Regions from separate parts of the Homo sapiens genome. Here all the other regions are linked to region 1. The links are contacts of gene promoters, found by promoter capture Hi-C in human tissues and cell types (Jung and others, 2019). All regions are on one chromosome and are shown on one strand. The core of a region is centred on a gene start or on the middle of the fragment in contact, and the rest is flanking DNA. Distances in the headings are between cores, read along the strand shown.

Region 1 (3,748 bases), core at 844-3,343:
ATACGTTAGGACCTGGCTCAGCTTGGCGAGGAGCAGCCTGAGGGGGAGGGGAGAGGTCAGATGGGTCCATAGAAAAGGAGGATTCAAAGGACAAGAAAGAAACAAGAAAGATTTGGGATGAGTCACATTGGGAGCAAAGACTAGGGACGGACCAATGTGTAAAGAATGCCTGGATGTCAGGCATCTCAGACCATTTGCCCATTTTATGACAAAAATTATCTAGATCTTGTAGGATGGAGAAATCAAAAGTGCCATTTTCTGGCCATTTAGAACCATTGTCAAGTTTGTACTGGGGCCAAGTGGTGTTGCAGAAGAAAATAAGGTATTTAGGTTTTAGGTCAGGTGTGAGTTGAATAGGTTTTAAGTTCTTGAGAACACAGGCTAAGGGAGAAGAACAGGGAATGGAGGGCAGAAGATTGCCCATAGTGAAGGAGGTAAGTTTAAAGAGAAAGGTAGAGACATGGAGAAGGCAGTGGAGTGGGGTGGGGGTGAGCAGCCCTGGGCTGTAATGTGGGTAAGCAGCCAAAGCAGGCAGCCCTGCAATTGACTTGCCACCAAGGGAATGTGGGTGAATGATCAAGGCAGGCATCCCCACAGTGATCAGACACCAATGGAATGTAGGTGAATAATCAGGCAGGTATCCCTACAGTGATTAGCCACCAAGGAAAGACTGTCTTCCTGAGTCCGTGACTGGAGCTGGAGTTTTGGGTCCACAGATAAAATGTGTCTCCTTTGTCTCTACTGGAGAGGAAAAAGAACTGGAATTGGAAGGACAGAGAGATGGAAGGGTAGTGAGAGAGGCTGGAGAAGAGAGTGAAGAGACTGCTTACCCAATTTGAAATTGGTGAGATGTTCCTTGGGCTAGTCTGAGGACCCGAGGTAGTAGGTGGAGCTCCTCACGGAGTGAGGGTGAGGACGGGGCCAGTCTCCCAAGGGAGTCCCCCTGTCCCAGGTTTCGGAACCAAATGTTACACACATCCATGTGAAGAGACCACCAATAGGCTTTGTGTTAGCAACAAGGCTGTTTATTCACTTGGGTGCAAGTGGGCTGAGTCCGAGAAAGGGGTCAGCAAAGGGAGATAGGGGTGGGGCAGTTTTATAGGATTTGGGTAGGTAGTGGAAAGTTAAAGGTGGTTATCTTTTGCTGGCAGGGCCGGGGGTCACAAGGTGCTCGGTGGGGAACTCCTGAGACTCGTCCAGAAGAAGAATGTCACAAGGTCAAGAGATCAGTTGGGGTGGGGCAGCAACAAATCACAATGGTGGAACGTCATCAGTTAAGGCAGGAACTGGCTGTTTCACTTCTTTTGTGGTTCTTCAGTTGCTCCAGGCCATCTGGATGTATACGTGCAGGTGACAGGGTTTATGATGATTTAACTTGGGCTCAGAGGCCTGACAAGTAGTTCAAGACCAGCCTGGCCAGCATGGCAAAACCCTGCCTCTACTAAAAATACAAAAATTAGCAGGGTGTGGCAGCATGCACCTGTAATTCCAGCTACTTGGGAGGATGAGGCAGGAGAATCGCTTGAACCTGGGAGGTGGAGGTTGCAGTGAGCTGAGATGGCTCCACTGAACTCCAGCCTTGGTGACAGAGTGAGATTTTGTCTCAAAAAAAAAGAAAAGATGTTTTAAAGCAAGGCAGAAAACCTAGAAATTATTTTTAAAAACAATTCTTTTAGCTGCATAGAAAATGTTTTTTACATCAAATGTTGAAATAGTAACAGAGCAAAAGACGTAGTTACCTATTTTCTACATGCATAACACATTGGCTCCTTCCCCTATGGCCGCCCTGCTGCGGCCTCGCCCACAGGCCTGGCTATAACTTCAACCTTTTCCTCTGGGCCTGGACCCACATTCCTCCCCGCCCCCTGCCCGTAGCCCTGCCCACAGGCTTGGCTCTAACCTCGACCTTGCCTTCTGGACCCATTTCTGCCTGCAGCCCCCACGCTGAGCCCACCCCAAGGTCCTCCGCAGCCAAGCAGATGGAAAGTAGAATTTTTCTGCCTCGAGGAGGTATTACACGGCAGAAACCCTAGTCCCGAAACCCCGCCTGGCCCGAGGCGGAGAGCGTAAATGACGTCAGCGGTGCGCCGTTCCTTTTGTGACGCCGGCTGTGAGCGCCTGAGAGTCTTTTTGCCTTTCAGAGTTAAGGCCTCACTGGCCTGGGTGAGTTCCGAGGAGATGAACTGGTTTTGGGGTGAAGGACGGGTTTGGCCCGGACGTTAGAGAGGCCTGGCCCGCTCTGCTCGTGTCTGCTGGGCCCGCTAGCGTCCGCTCGGACCGTCGCTCCTCGGGAGGAGTCGGGTTTATAGTTACGGTGTCCGCAGGGTGTTTTCATCTGTGCGCCCCTCTCCAAAGGCCTCCAAAGCAGCGTTTGTGAATTTTTTTCCGGCAGGAAAATAATTGCTGCCTTTTGCATCCGCGTTGGCTCCGTCCCCAGGATCTTCCCGGTTCAGGGACCTGGCGATTTCTGAGTGTTCCGGTGAGCACTGGGTGAAAGTTGGTTCTAGGGGGCCTTTTCTGTCTTCTCTTATGCAAACGAATGTTTCATCTGTAAGTTTGGTTTCGTCTTATTGTGTTGTGTTTTATTTTTGACCATTACTTTCATGGCGAAAGATAAAGATGCTTTTTAGGTTTATAGGGTGTGCGTATTTGTGTATGTGAATATAAACGTTTGTAGACCGCAAGTCTTTCTGCTAAAGAATACTAAGAATAATAATTCATTATCTTCGAATGGAGTTCCTAGGCCTGTACATCCCAAGAGAGCTTCTTAATCAGACCTCCAGAGGGAAAGGATGAAGGCTTTATTATTCTAGTATCACAATAATCAAATTTACAATGAACAGGATGGTTGGATTAAGGAGTTTGAAACCAGCCTGGCTAAGATGGTGAAACCCCGTCTCTACTAAAAATAGAAAAAAAATTAGCCGAGCGTGGTGGTGGGGTCTTGGAATCTCAGCTATTTGGGAGACTAAGGCAGGAGAATCACTTGAACCCAGGAGGCGGACGTTGCAGTGAGCTGAGATCGTGCCACTGCACTCCAGCCTGGGAGACAGAGTGAGCCTCCGTCTCAAAAGAAAAAAAAGAGAAACGAAGGATGTGTGCATTTTAAGCTACATTGATTGTATATCAATGAAAAAAAAAAAAAGCTGGCTGGGTACAGTGGCTCACACCTGTGATCCCAGCACTTTGAGAGGCTGAGGCAGGAAGATCTCTTGAGCCCAGGAGTTTAAGACCAGCCTGGGCAACATAGCAAGACTCCATCTCTCCAAAAAAAAAAAAAAAAAAAGAGTTAAATATTCTATACAGATGCCACCAAACTGAATATTTGTGGGCCTAGTCAGCCCTAGGACCCCTAGTTTGAGACCCCTGGGAGTAGGTGTGATCTATACCAGGAGTCCAGAACTGTGGTTTTTGTGACTTTAGGGTTTTAGTCTTATTGGTAGAAGGAGGCCTATAGAGTTTTTGTGAATTTGGTTCATGGATAATGAACTGCGGAACTTTCACTGTTTATCATCATTTGACTCCCATTCTGTAGGTGATTGTTTGAGCCACTGTTTCATGTTTGATTAATTAATGATTGTCATTATTATTATTATTATTTTTTTTTTGAGACAGAGTCTTGCTCTGTCACCTAGGCTGGAGTGCAGTGGTGTGATCTCAGCTCCCTGCAACTTCCATTTCCCAGGATCAAGCGATTCTCCTGCCTCAGCCTCCTGAGTAGCTGGGATTACAGCCGCACACCACGCCC
Region 2 (3,748 bases), core at 483-2,982, 430 kb after region 1:
GCCAGATCCTGTCTCTAAAAATAATAAAACAAACTAGATTCTGACCCTTTTGATTATTTTAGATTGACAGATCAACTGGGGGAACACAGATTATTATTACTGGCATAATGGACATAACATCTTGAAATCTCAGGTTGAATACTGTTGCTTGCCAGATACTACCTGTGTGGTCAGAGATTGAAGAACCTTAAAAGACAGGTAACGAAGCAAGGAAAATTGGGGCAGCTTACACATTTTTTTTTTTTAAGATGGAGTCTTGCTCTGTCGCCCAGGCTGGAGTGTAGTGGCACAATCTGAGCTCACTGCAACCTCTGCCTTCTGGGTTCAAGCGATTCTCCTGTCTCAGCCTCCTGAATAGCTGGGATTACAGGTGTGCGCCACCTCGGCTGGCTAATTTTTGTATTTTTAGTAGAGACGGAGTTTCACCATGTTGGTCATTGTGGTCTTGAACTCTTGACCTCGTGATCCGCCTGCCTCAGCCTCCCAAAGTGCTGGGATTACAGGCGTGAGCCACTGTGCCCAGCTAGTTTACATGTAAGACCCAAACTTGCAGATGGCTTACAGGTTAAGGGTTTTTTGTTTTTGTTTTTGTTTTTTTTTTTGAGATGGAGTCTTGCTCTGTCACCCAGGCTGGAGTGTAGGGACACGATCTCAGCTCACTGCAACCTCCACCTCCTGGGTTCAAGCGATTCTCCTGCCTCAGCCTCCCGAGTAGCTGGGACTACAGGTGCCTGTCACCACGCCTGGCTAATTTTTGTATTTTTAGTACAGACAAGGTTTCACCATATTGGCCAGGCTGGTCTCAAACTCCTGACCTCAGGTTATCCACCCACCTCAGCCTCCCAAAGTGCTGGGATTACATGCATAAGCCACCACGCCCAGCATCAAATCTCATCTCTACTAAAAATACAAAAATTAGCCAGGTGTGGTGGCACTCGCCTGTAATCCCAGCTACTCTGGAGGCTGAGGCACAAGAATCACTTGAACCCAGAGGCAGAGGTTGCAGTGAGCTGAGATGGCGCCACTGCATTCCGGCCTGGGTGATAGAGTGAGACTGTCTCAAAAAAAAAAAAAAAAAAAAAAAAAAAAGAATAAGAAAGAAAGAAAGAAGAAAAAAGAAAACCTTCATGTTGGTTATACCTGTCTTCTGGCACAGCTGCTGGCATTCACCTACGCAGGCTTTCAGCTTGCTTACCTATGCTTGCAGCTTGATTTTTCAGGCTACTTTTTGCCTGAAAAGAAATGATTTGGGGGCTGCTTTTTATTAAAAAGAAAAACCTTACCCAGGACTTCTGTACCCTCACTAACTGCCTAAATAATTTCTTTTTAATTCATATGCTATTATTAGGTTAATTTATAGCTACTTGTGGCAACAGCAAGCAGTTTTATGAGATGAATGCATAGTTCAAAGGAGGGGAGGAGGGGTGTGGTTTCTGTCTCATTTTAATGTCTTTCCGGGTCTGACAATGAAGAGAACTCACATTCTTCAGATCAAAATCCTTTTTTTTACTAGACGAATGGTATGTGTTCTGGGAGCAAGATTCGTGAAGTGGAGGTGAGCAGAAACAATGGAGAGATATGGATGGTGTACACGTGGCCTCAGGGGACAGGGACTCAGCCATCCCGAATTCCTCACTCCTCTAGTCTTGGTCTTTAAGGATGTGCACTCCTGGGATCAGAACGATGGTAAAATAGCCAGTGTAATGAGGAGCGTTGGATATTGAGGTCCCAGGGATATAGACAGTGCAACAAGTCAGGCTGTAAGCACCTCACTGAACATCTCTTACCCAGCTCGGAAGCTGCATCAGAACCTCCTTCCAGACATGATATTTTTGACCAGGACTCGAGTCTGTCTGCACTTCCTGAGGATAGATCATCCTCTGCAATATCCATGTGAGTTGTTGAGCATCATTTTTGTTGAAGCCAATCAGTTAACCCAAAGTCCTTTAGTTAATTAATGCTTTGGAAATGAGGGCAGGTGGTTTTGTTTTTTGGGGTTTTTTTAGAGACAAGGTCTCACTCTGTTGCCTGGAAGGAGTGTGGTGACTCGATCATAGCTCACTGCAGTCTTGAATTCCTGGATCAACCAATCCTTCAGCCTCAGCCTACTGAGTAACTGGGACTACAGGTGCATGCCATTACACTTTGCAAATTTTTAAATTTTTTTTGTAGACACAGGTTCTCACTACGTTGCCCAGGCTGGTCTTACACTCCTGGCCTCTTGTACTCCCGCCTCAGCCTCCCAAAGGACCCGGATTATAGATGTGAGCCACAGTGCCTGGCTATATAAAGCTTTTAAAATGCAACACAATGCCATTGTTATTATTTGGAAGAATAATATCAAATATAATGAAAGGTATAGAAGAATAATATAGATCAAGTGTGTGTACTGGTTCCCCTAGGGAAGGGAAAAAAAATCAAAAACATGAAGCGGTGGTTTTGAAATATGCACTTTTTTTTTTTTTTTTTTGAGATGGAATCTTGCTCTGTCACCCAGGCTGGAGTGCAGTGGCATGATCTCGGCTCACTGCAACCTCCGCCTCCCAGGTTCAAGCGATTCTCCTGTAGAGACGGAGTTTCACCATATTGGTCAGCTGGTCTTGAACTCCTGACCTCAGATGATCCACCTGCCTCAGCCTCCCAAAATGCTGGGATTACAGGCATGAGCCACCATGCCCAGCCTCAAATACACACTTTATTGCAATAAAAATATTTTTTACTTTTTGCAATAAAAATATCTAATCAAGGATGGTGAATTGTGTGAATTTTTTTTTTTTTTTTTGAGACACAGTCTCCCTCTGTCACCCAGGCTGGAGTGCAGTGGCACGATCTCGGCTTACTGCAACCTCTGCCTCTCAGGTGCAAGCGATTCTCCTGCCTCAGCCTCCCAAGTAGCTGGGGTTACAGGCGTGCACCACACCACCACACCCAGCTAATTTTTTTGTATTTGTAGTAAAGACGGGGTTTCGCCATATTGGCCAGGCTGATCTCAAACTCTTGATCTCAGGTGATCCACCTGCCTCAGCCTCCCAAAGTGCTGGGATTATAGGCTTGAGCCACCACGCCTGGCCTTGTGTGAATCTTATATCGTTGACTGATGGGTAGCCAGCCCTTCATTATTCTCCGTACTTTCTGAATAATTCACACATGAATAATCTATAATAAAAATGAATATATCTGTGCAGGTTCAAAAACGTTTAGAATTTTTCTCACACTGTACACTGTTTATCATACAAAAATTTTCTTCCTTTCTTCCTTTCTTTCTCCTTTTCTTTTTCTCTCTCTTTCTCTTCCCTTCTCTCTTTTTTTTGTGAATCATACATCAGTTGTTAAAAAACAAGCTAAACTTTTTTTTTTTTTAAGACAGAGTGTCACTCTGTCACCCAGGCTGGAGTGCAATGGCACAATCTTGGCACACTGCAACCTCCATTTCCTGGGTTCAAGAGATTCTCCTGCCTCAGCCTCCCAAGTAGCTGGGATTGCAGGTGCATGCCACCATGCCTGGCTAATATTTGTAATTTTAATAGACATGGGGTTTCACCATGTTGGCTAGGCTGGTCTCGAACTCCTGACCTCATGATCCGCCTGCCTTAGCCTCCCAAAGTGCTGGGATTACAGGCGTGAACCACCACGCACAGCCTGTTGAGGGTTTTTAACATAAAGCAATGTTGAATTTTATTAAAAGCCTTTTTTGCATCTATTGAGATAATAATGTGGTTTTTGGGTTTAGTTCTTTTTATGTGATGAA
Region 3 (3,748 bases), core at 715-3,214, 320 kb after region 1:
GGTGATAACCCCGTCTCTACTAAAAATACAAAAAAGTAGCCGGGCGTCGTGGCAGGCGCCTGTAATCCCAGCTACTCGGGAGGCTGAGGCAGGAGAATGGCGTAAACCCGGGAGGCGGAGCTTGCAGCGAGCGGAGATCGCGCCACTGCATTCCAGCCTGGGTGACAGAGCGAGACTCCGTCTCAAAAAAAAAAAAAAAAAAAAAAAAAAAAGGGCAAAAGACCTGAAAGACATTTGTCAAAAGAAGACACACAGATGGACAACATACATTTTTTTTTTCTTGAGACGAGTCTCGCTCTGTCACCCAGGCTGGAGTGCAGTGGCGCGATCTCGGCTCACTGCAAGCTCCCCCTCCCGGGTTGAAGTCATTCTCCTGCCTCAGCCTCCCAAGTAGCTGGGACTACAGGCGCCCGCCACCACGCCCGGCTAATTTTTTGTATTTTTAGTAGGGACGGGGTTTCACCTTTAGCCAGGATGGTCTCGATCGCCTGACCCTGTGATCCGCCCGTCTAGGCCTCCCAAAGTGCTGGGATTACAGGCGTGAGCCACTGCGCCCGGCCCAACATACATTTTTAAAAGGTTTAACTTCACTAATCATCAGGGAAATGCAAATGAAAACCACAATGAGATATCACCTCACTTCATCTCAAATGGCTATTACTAAAAAGACAAAAGATAGTAAGTGCTGGCCAGGATATGAAGAAATGGAAACCCTTCTACACTGTTGGTAGGAATGTAAATTAGTACAACCATTATGGAAAAGAGTATGGAGGTTCCTCAAAAACTTAAAAATAGAACTACCATATGATCCAGCAGTCCACTACTGGGTATATATCAATAAGAAACGAAGTCAGTGTGTGGAAGGGATATCGCACTCCCATGTTTATTGGAGCATTATTCACAGTAGCCAAGACACAGAATCAACCTAGTTGTCTGCAAATAAATGAATGGATAAAGAAAATGTAGTATATATACACAATGGAATATGATTCATCCATAAAACACAAGGAAATCCTGTCATTTGCAACATGGATGAACTCAGAGAACATTGTGTTAAGTGAAATAAGGGAGGCACAGAAAGACAAATATCACATGATCTCACTCATATGTGGAATCTAACGAAGGTGATCTCAGAGAAATAGAATCCAGATTTCAAAGAAGTAGAATGTTGGTTACCAGACCCAGAGTGGTTTGGGGTTGAGGAGTAGTGTTGGTGTTGTGGAGATGTTAGTAAAAGAATACAAAATTACAGCTATATAAGAGAAGTAAGTTCAAGAGATCTATTGTACAGCAGGATGACTTTAGTTAATGATGATATATATGATATTCTTTGAAAATGCTAAGAGAGTGGATATTAAGTGTTCTCACCAGGATAACGACTCTGTGAGATAATGCGTATGTTAATTAGATACATTGAATGTCCACAATGTATATATATTTCCAAATATCAAGTTGTACATGATACATACATATAATTCTATAATTTAAAAAAATATATAAAAATAATTTGAAAAAATATTTAAAAAGAAAAGACATTTTTGTTTCCATGAATTTTCAACACCGAGGGATCCATAAAATCTCCAAAGACTCTTCAAGGGAGTCACATCGCTTGGAGATGATTCCTGAGTTTAGTTCCTTGCAGAAATTAATCTTTCCTTAGGGCAAAACTTGTGACTTTCAAATTAAACCGAAGAAAGAATTTCTTCTTGGGGGAAATAAATCCATCATGCCCTACCACTGCCTATTTCATCACAAAATTAACTGAAAAATTTCCATTCTATCATCTTCTTACTACTCAAAGGGAGCCAAACTCTTTGGAGAGTGGGAAGAAAATAGAACAATTTATTTAATAAGGTGCTCTGAGAATTCAACTCTTGAGACACTGGAAACTTAAAATGTGCCCCTGTTTAAACAACCTCACCTGTAATTCTCTGCTCCCAGCCTTTGGAAAAAACCCAGTACGGCTTCCTAGGAACAGATCGTGTAGAAGAGAAAACTTCAGTGATAACCATCAGAGTTAGTGTGACCCAGTGAGGGCTGGTGGGGTAAGAAGGAAAAGAGGAGAGAGAATAAGTACTAGCCTTCACAGTAATGAGCCTGGAAAGTCCCATACTTATTGAGTCTATGAAGGTGAAGTCCCTGTACTTTGATGGTACTTTAGTTTTCACAGAAACCAGTGTCTCCCACCTTCTGTTCTCACTCCTTGGAATCCAGGGCCCGTCTTTAATAAGTTATTTTCCGAACAGTCTCTAACTCTCCTGCACTCTTTCCTATAAACTTTAGTCTCCTGTTGAATTTCGTACATCCAGTTACTTATTCATTAACTACTCACGGAAGATCTACTATGCTCAAGGTATTGTCTATGTGTTCCTAATGTGATTGGATTTTTCTATTATATTCTATATTTTTCCTGGCAGATTATTGGTTACCAGACCCAGAGTGGTCTGGGGATTGGGGGTAGGGTTGATGTGGTGGAGATGGTGACTTATTTACAGCACTTACTAGCTGTTATGTTTTTGCTATTTCAACTTAGTATCCATGATATCATATAGAAATAATACAATTATTTCTGACATTCAACATGCAGTCCAATTTTTTTTCTCATATTAAAAATCCCTTGGCTGAACGTAGTGGCTCACATCTATAATCCCAGCACTTTGGGAGGCCGAGGCGGGCAGATCACTTGAGGCCAGGACCCTGAGACCAGCCTGGCTAACATGGCAAAACCCTGTCTCTACTAAACAATAACAAAAAAAGAAAGCCTGACACCTTAGCTTACACCTGCAATCCCAGTTACTCGGGAGACTGAGATGGGATAATTGCTTGAACCCAGGAGGCAGAGGTTGCAGTAAGCTGAGACTGCACCCCGCACTCCAGCCCAGGTGACAAAGTGACACCATGTCCCCCCCAAAAAAAAATCCATTTGCATGTTCACCAAAATATCAAAAGATTGAAATTGTAGTAGACGGCCTTTGGTGTATCCAGGAATTTAAACCCCTTACTGTTTTAACATAGCATATCTTGTTGCCTGTGGTATTAAAACAACCATTGTTTATCGGGTTAAGCAATTGTCCTTGGTTTCTTCCTTTATTGAGAGGATCTGCCCTGGTTGATAATCTTTTTCAAATGCATTTTTTCTATTGTGATTTTGTTTATGATTTCTCTTTACTGACCTGTTTTTGTGATGAATTATGCAGACATTCTTACATTAAACCTGCTTCCATTGTTAGAGCTGGTATTACTACTTCATTTATCATTATTTTAAAAGAGATATGAATATGTTATTTACTGTATTATTAAATTTATGTCTATATTCAAACATGTCTTAAACTTGAAGATTTCTATTTTGTGTTATAGTTGATGCTTTGGTCCCAGTCTTTATAGAACATTTCAATTTGTACTTGCTCAGAATCAGTAATGTGCTGGGCACCACGTAAATCCTTGTTAAATGATGAGACAAAACAATCGCAACCACTGTCTAAAACTAAATATAAGTTGACCAATGTGAAAGGGACAAGGAGGAAGAATATAGGATGTTCTATTTCTAGTCATCAAATACATATCCCGCTTTCATTCCCTGCTCCCCATCTCACTGGCATCTCAAATCCCTTCCTTTACAAGCTCAATGACCCATGGGACAATCTCGAATTCTCTTCTGTCAGCCTAGAAGATTTACCCTTTCCTTTCCTTACTTCCCCTAATTAACAATGATCCGGCCAGGTGCAGTAGCTCATGTCTGTAATCCCAG
Region 4 (3,748 bases), core at 329-2,828, 260 kb after region 1:
GAACAAACTCCAGACGCGCCACTTAAGAGCTGTAACACTCACCGCGAGGGTCTGCGGCTTCATTCTTGAAGTCAGTGAGACCAAGAACCCACCAATTCTGGACACAAGGTGGCTCCTGTGGTGGGTCCACATTGTCAAACCTTCATAGCTCAGTAAGTGTTGAGGGAAATAGGGAAAAGAGATGATTGAGGGGAAAGGCATTGACTTGTTAATCATAGGGCAGGAGAAACCCTGTGATGTCCACGGAGAAGGGGCTGTTGAGGCTGATTTCTTGGAAGGGAGAATGGCTAGACTACTTGCTTAAATAGCCATTGTATAGCGAGCTTTAACTTTGCCTGTATATTACTTGGGTAGATGACTGATGGAGGTTATAGGAAGGGCTACTCTTTGTTGGCCTGGGGCACTGTTTGATATCTTAGCGCTGCCCTGGATCACTCTGTGTGGTCTTGGAGTGACCAATCTGCATTGTACAAATGGATGCTCCAAGGTACATGATAGGAATTGCAATTCTCCCTGGGGCCTGGAGGGAAAGATGGATTTAGGGCAGGCAAAACTAAGGACAAGGAAACAGGGTTGGGGATTCCTCATATCATTGGAATTGAGGGGAACAACTCAGGAATATTTTTGCAGAAGAAAAACAAAGGCCAGGAGAGGTAAAGGAATGAGGTCAATGTCTTGCTAACAATCTCAGCTTAAGGACGAGACTTGACTTCAAGTGAAATGAAGGGAATTATGGAAAAGAATCCTGCAGGTTTCAGTAGGAGCTGTAGGTGCCTTGCAGTGAAGTCCTGGTCACTTCTAGTTCTTTTCACCTACTACCTGACCCAAGAACTTCAGAGGCCCTCAGCCTAGATCAAGCCTCTCTGAATTCTTCTCTGTGACCCTCACTTGCTTGGAAACATCTCCTGCCTCTCCAGAAAGACTTATCCTTCCCCATCCTTCTTTACCCTTATCCATGATTCTAAGTAGACACCTTCAAGAGACAAGCGTCTGTGTTCCCTGGAATGGAAGGCCATGGTGTATAACAACTAGGGTACGATGGGTGAGTGAGGGAAAGTGAAGGGCTCAGGCAAGCCCAACATCCAGTCTCCTCTTGACATCGTATCCTCTGGGGAACACGAGGGAAGCATTGAAACCTGCAGGATTCTTTTCCATAATTCCCTTCATTTCACTTGAAGGTCAAGTCTCATCCTTAAGCTGAGATTGTTAGCAAGACATTGACCTCATTCCTTTACCTCTCCTGGCCTTTGTATTTCTTCTGCAAAAATATTCCTGAGTTGTTCCCCTCAATTCCAATGATATGAAGAATCCCCAACCCTGTTCCCTTATCCTTAGTTTTGCCTGCCCTAAATCCATCTTTCCCTCCAGGCCCCAGGGAGAATTGCAATTCCTATCATGTTACTCCTTTGATTGCCGTTCCTTCACAGCCCCATCCTTTATGGATTATACTTTTCAAAGTTCTTAGACATGTCATCCCTGCCCACCTCTCCAACATCATCCTCATCGTTTCTATCTAACACTTTGTACTTAAGCAGCAGCAAAGGGCTAAGAGAACTCTGTCCCATGCTGCTTCTTGCTTCTAGGCTTATTCCCTTGCTTATATCTCTGCCAGAAATGCCCCTGTGCAACCATTCACCTGGGTAACTCCTTGCCCAGGTATTCCTTCCTCCAGGACTCCTTCCCTGAATGCATTACTCCAGGCTGGATTGAGGGTTCCTCTCTGTACTCCACTCTGTACATCGTTTTATTTTAGCACTTAATTCACTGTGTTACAATGATCTGTTTCTGAATCCATCTTCTGGAAGGTGGAACCATAAGAAAAAAAAGACCACATCATTAATCTTTGTATCCCCAACAGCTAACACTTAGCCTGGCCCAAAGAAGACCCTCTTGCAGAATGGCTGTTAGCACTTTTTCAGTGACTGACAACCTAGTTGTCAACCTAGTTCAATTCTTCTGTACTTCCCAGCACGGCTCAACAAAAATTATGCACCAGGCCACGTGCTGTGGCTCATGCCTGTAATCCCAGCACTTTGGGAGGCCGAGGTGGGCAGATCACCTGAGGTTGGGAGTTGAAGACCAGCCTGGCCAACATGGTAAAACTAACTAGTTTTTGTAAAAAACTAGCTAGTTAGTTTTGTATTTTTACAAAAACTAGCTGGGCATGGTGGTGCACACCTGTAATCCCAGCTACTCAGGAGGCTGAGGCAGGAGAATTGTTTGAACCCGGGAGGCAGAGGTTATAGTGAGCCGAGATTGCGCCACTGAACTCTCCAGCCTGGGTGACAGCTCAAGACTCTGTCTCAAAAGAAAAGAAAACAAACAAAAACCCAACAACAACAAAAAAAATTGTGCACCAACACTAGACACTAGAAACAGATTAGGACATATTTATTATGTGGATGGAAAAAGAGAATCATATAAGTGTCAAATGACTGTATCTTTCTGGTCTCTAATTTTGAAACCCTGGTTCTAAGGTAGAAAGTTTTTAATGTGCGGTCAGCTTCTTAAGATGAATGTTATTACTGGTAATGTCATGACCTATTTGAATCAGAATTTGGCTGCCACCATAATTCCAAGTGGGACTTAAGGCAACAAGTAACCCTTCCTTCCTTCCTTCCTTCCTTCCTTCCTTCCTTCCTTCCTTCCTTCCTTTCTTCCTTTCCTTCCTTCCTTCTTTCCTTCCTTCCCTTCCTTCCTCCTTCCCTCCCTCCCTTCCTCTTTCCTTCCTTGAAAACCTAAATCCACTCATCTTGCAATATTTTGTCTAGCTATTATCTCTGCTTTCATATTTTCTCACTGCTCAGACATAGTTGTCTGACCTTCTTCAGTCTCAGTTGTGTCTTAGACAAGGAAGATGACCCTGACCTTTTCTTAAGTTCACTGAACCTTATATGTGTTAGAGCAGGTGCAGACCATTTTATCTCTAAGGTCTAAAGTTGCTCTTGGTAGATTTGATGATTCTAAAGCAGAGAAAAAGGGAATGGGTAAGCCTCTGAGAGGCCAATGAACAGGGGTTAGTCAACGTTATGAAATGTTGCCTATAACAAATGACAGAATGTAGGATTCCTAAGTTTTGCTATTTTAAAGCTTTTGTATCCAATTATTCACCTCAAGAAATAAAAAAGCAGAGAGATTTTGGAGCCTGTTCAGCATCTATTTCATGTTTCTTCCCTTCCTTAACTGTCTAGCTGATGTGTCAGCAACATGGACTTGGGAAATCAAACAAGAGTTTCAGAATTTTTACTCCTGGGATTTTCCCAAGACCTAGAGGATCAACAGTTGCTCTTTGCACTGTTTCTGTCCATGTACCTGGTCACCGTTCTGGGGAACCTGCTCATCATCCTGGCCATCAGCTCTGACTCCCACCTCCACACCCCCAGGTACTTCTTCCTCTCCAATCTGTCCCTGGCTGACATCGGTTTCACCTCCACCGCAGTCCCCAAGATGCTGGTGAACATCCAGGTGCAGAGCAATGCCATCAGCTATGCAGACTGCATCGCCCAGATGTATGTTTTTCATGGTTTTTGGAGGCATGGACACATTTCTCCTCACCGTGATGGCCTATGACCGGTATGTGGCCATCTGTCACCCCCTGTACTACTGTGTCACCAGGAACCCCTGCCTCTGTGGCCTGCTGGTTCTTGTGTCCTGGTTCCTCAGCTTGTCATACTCCCTGATCCAGAGTCTGTTGGTGCTGCGGGTGTCCTTCTGCACCAGTTGAGTCATTCAGCACTTTTACTGTGAG

What was found. The method cuts DNA at HindIII sites, captures the fragments that hold promoters and counts their contacts. A contact is called where the count stands out against the background at its distance.
Region 2: the fragment with the promoter of OR7G2 here is called in contact with the fragment with the promoter of ZNF426 in region 1 in 1 of the 25 tissues and cell types used here (H1 embryonic stem cells).
Region 3: the fragment with the promoter of OR7D4 here is called in contact with the fragment with the promoter of ZNF426 in region 1 in 1 of the 25 tissues and cell types used here (mesendoderm cells).
Region 4: a contact is called between a fragment that was not itself captured here and the fragment with the promoter of ZNF426 in region 1, in 2 of the 25 tissues and cell types used here (liver and spleen).

What each region holds. Positions count from the first base shown.
Region 1 is chr19:9,536,990-9,540,737 of GRCh38, reverse strand. ZNF426 (zinc finger protein 426) reads left to right here and starts at 2,093. Exons shown (of 8, transcript NM_024106.3): 1 at 2,093-2,163; 2 at 2,393-2,479. ZNF426-DT (ZNF426 divergent transcript) reads right to left here and starts at 2,072. Exons shown (of 2, transcript NR_134921.1): 1 at 1,740-2,072; 2 at 1,008-1,332. RefSeq lists enhancers at 1-1,071, 1,726-1,795, 1,996-2,045, 2,052-2,787. The HindIII fragment of the contact is 15,089 bases long and covers 1-3,748 here.
Region 2 is chr19:9,105,459-9,109,206 of GRCh38, reverse strand. It overlaps OR7G2 (olfactory receptor family 7 subfamily G member 2), which reads left to right and starts at 1,732. Exons shown (of 2, transcript NM_001005193.2): 1 at 1,732-1,893. The HindIII fragment of the contact is 11,921 bases long and covers 1-3,748 here.
Region 3 is chr19:9,217,805-9,221,552 of GRCh38, reverse strand. OR7D4 (olfactory receptor family 7 subfamily D member 4) reads left to right here and starts at 1,964. Exons shown (of 2, transcript NM_001005191.3): 1 at 1,964-2,353. It also overlaps a transcript of OR7E24 not described here. The HindIII fragment of the contact is 21,358 bases long and covers 551-3,748 here.
Region 4 is chr19:9,278,829-9,282,576 of GRCh38, reverse strand. It overlaps the pseudogene OR7H1P. Among named protein-coding and RNA genes, the nearest start is that of ZNF699, 29 kb to the left of the region's middle. The HindIII fragment of the contact is 5,089 bases long and covers 1-3,748 here.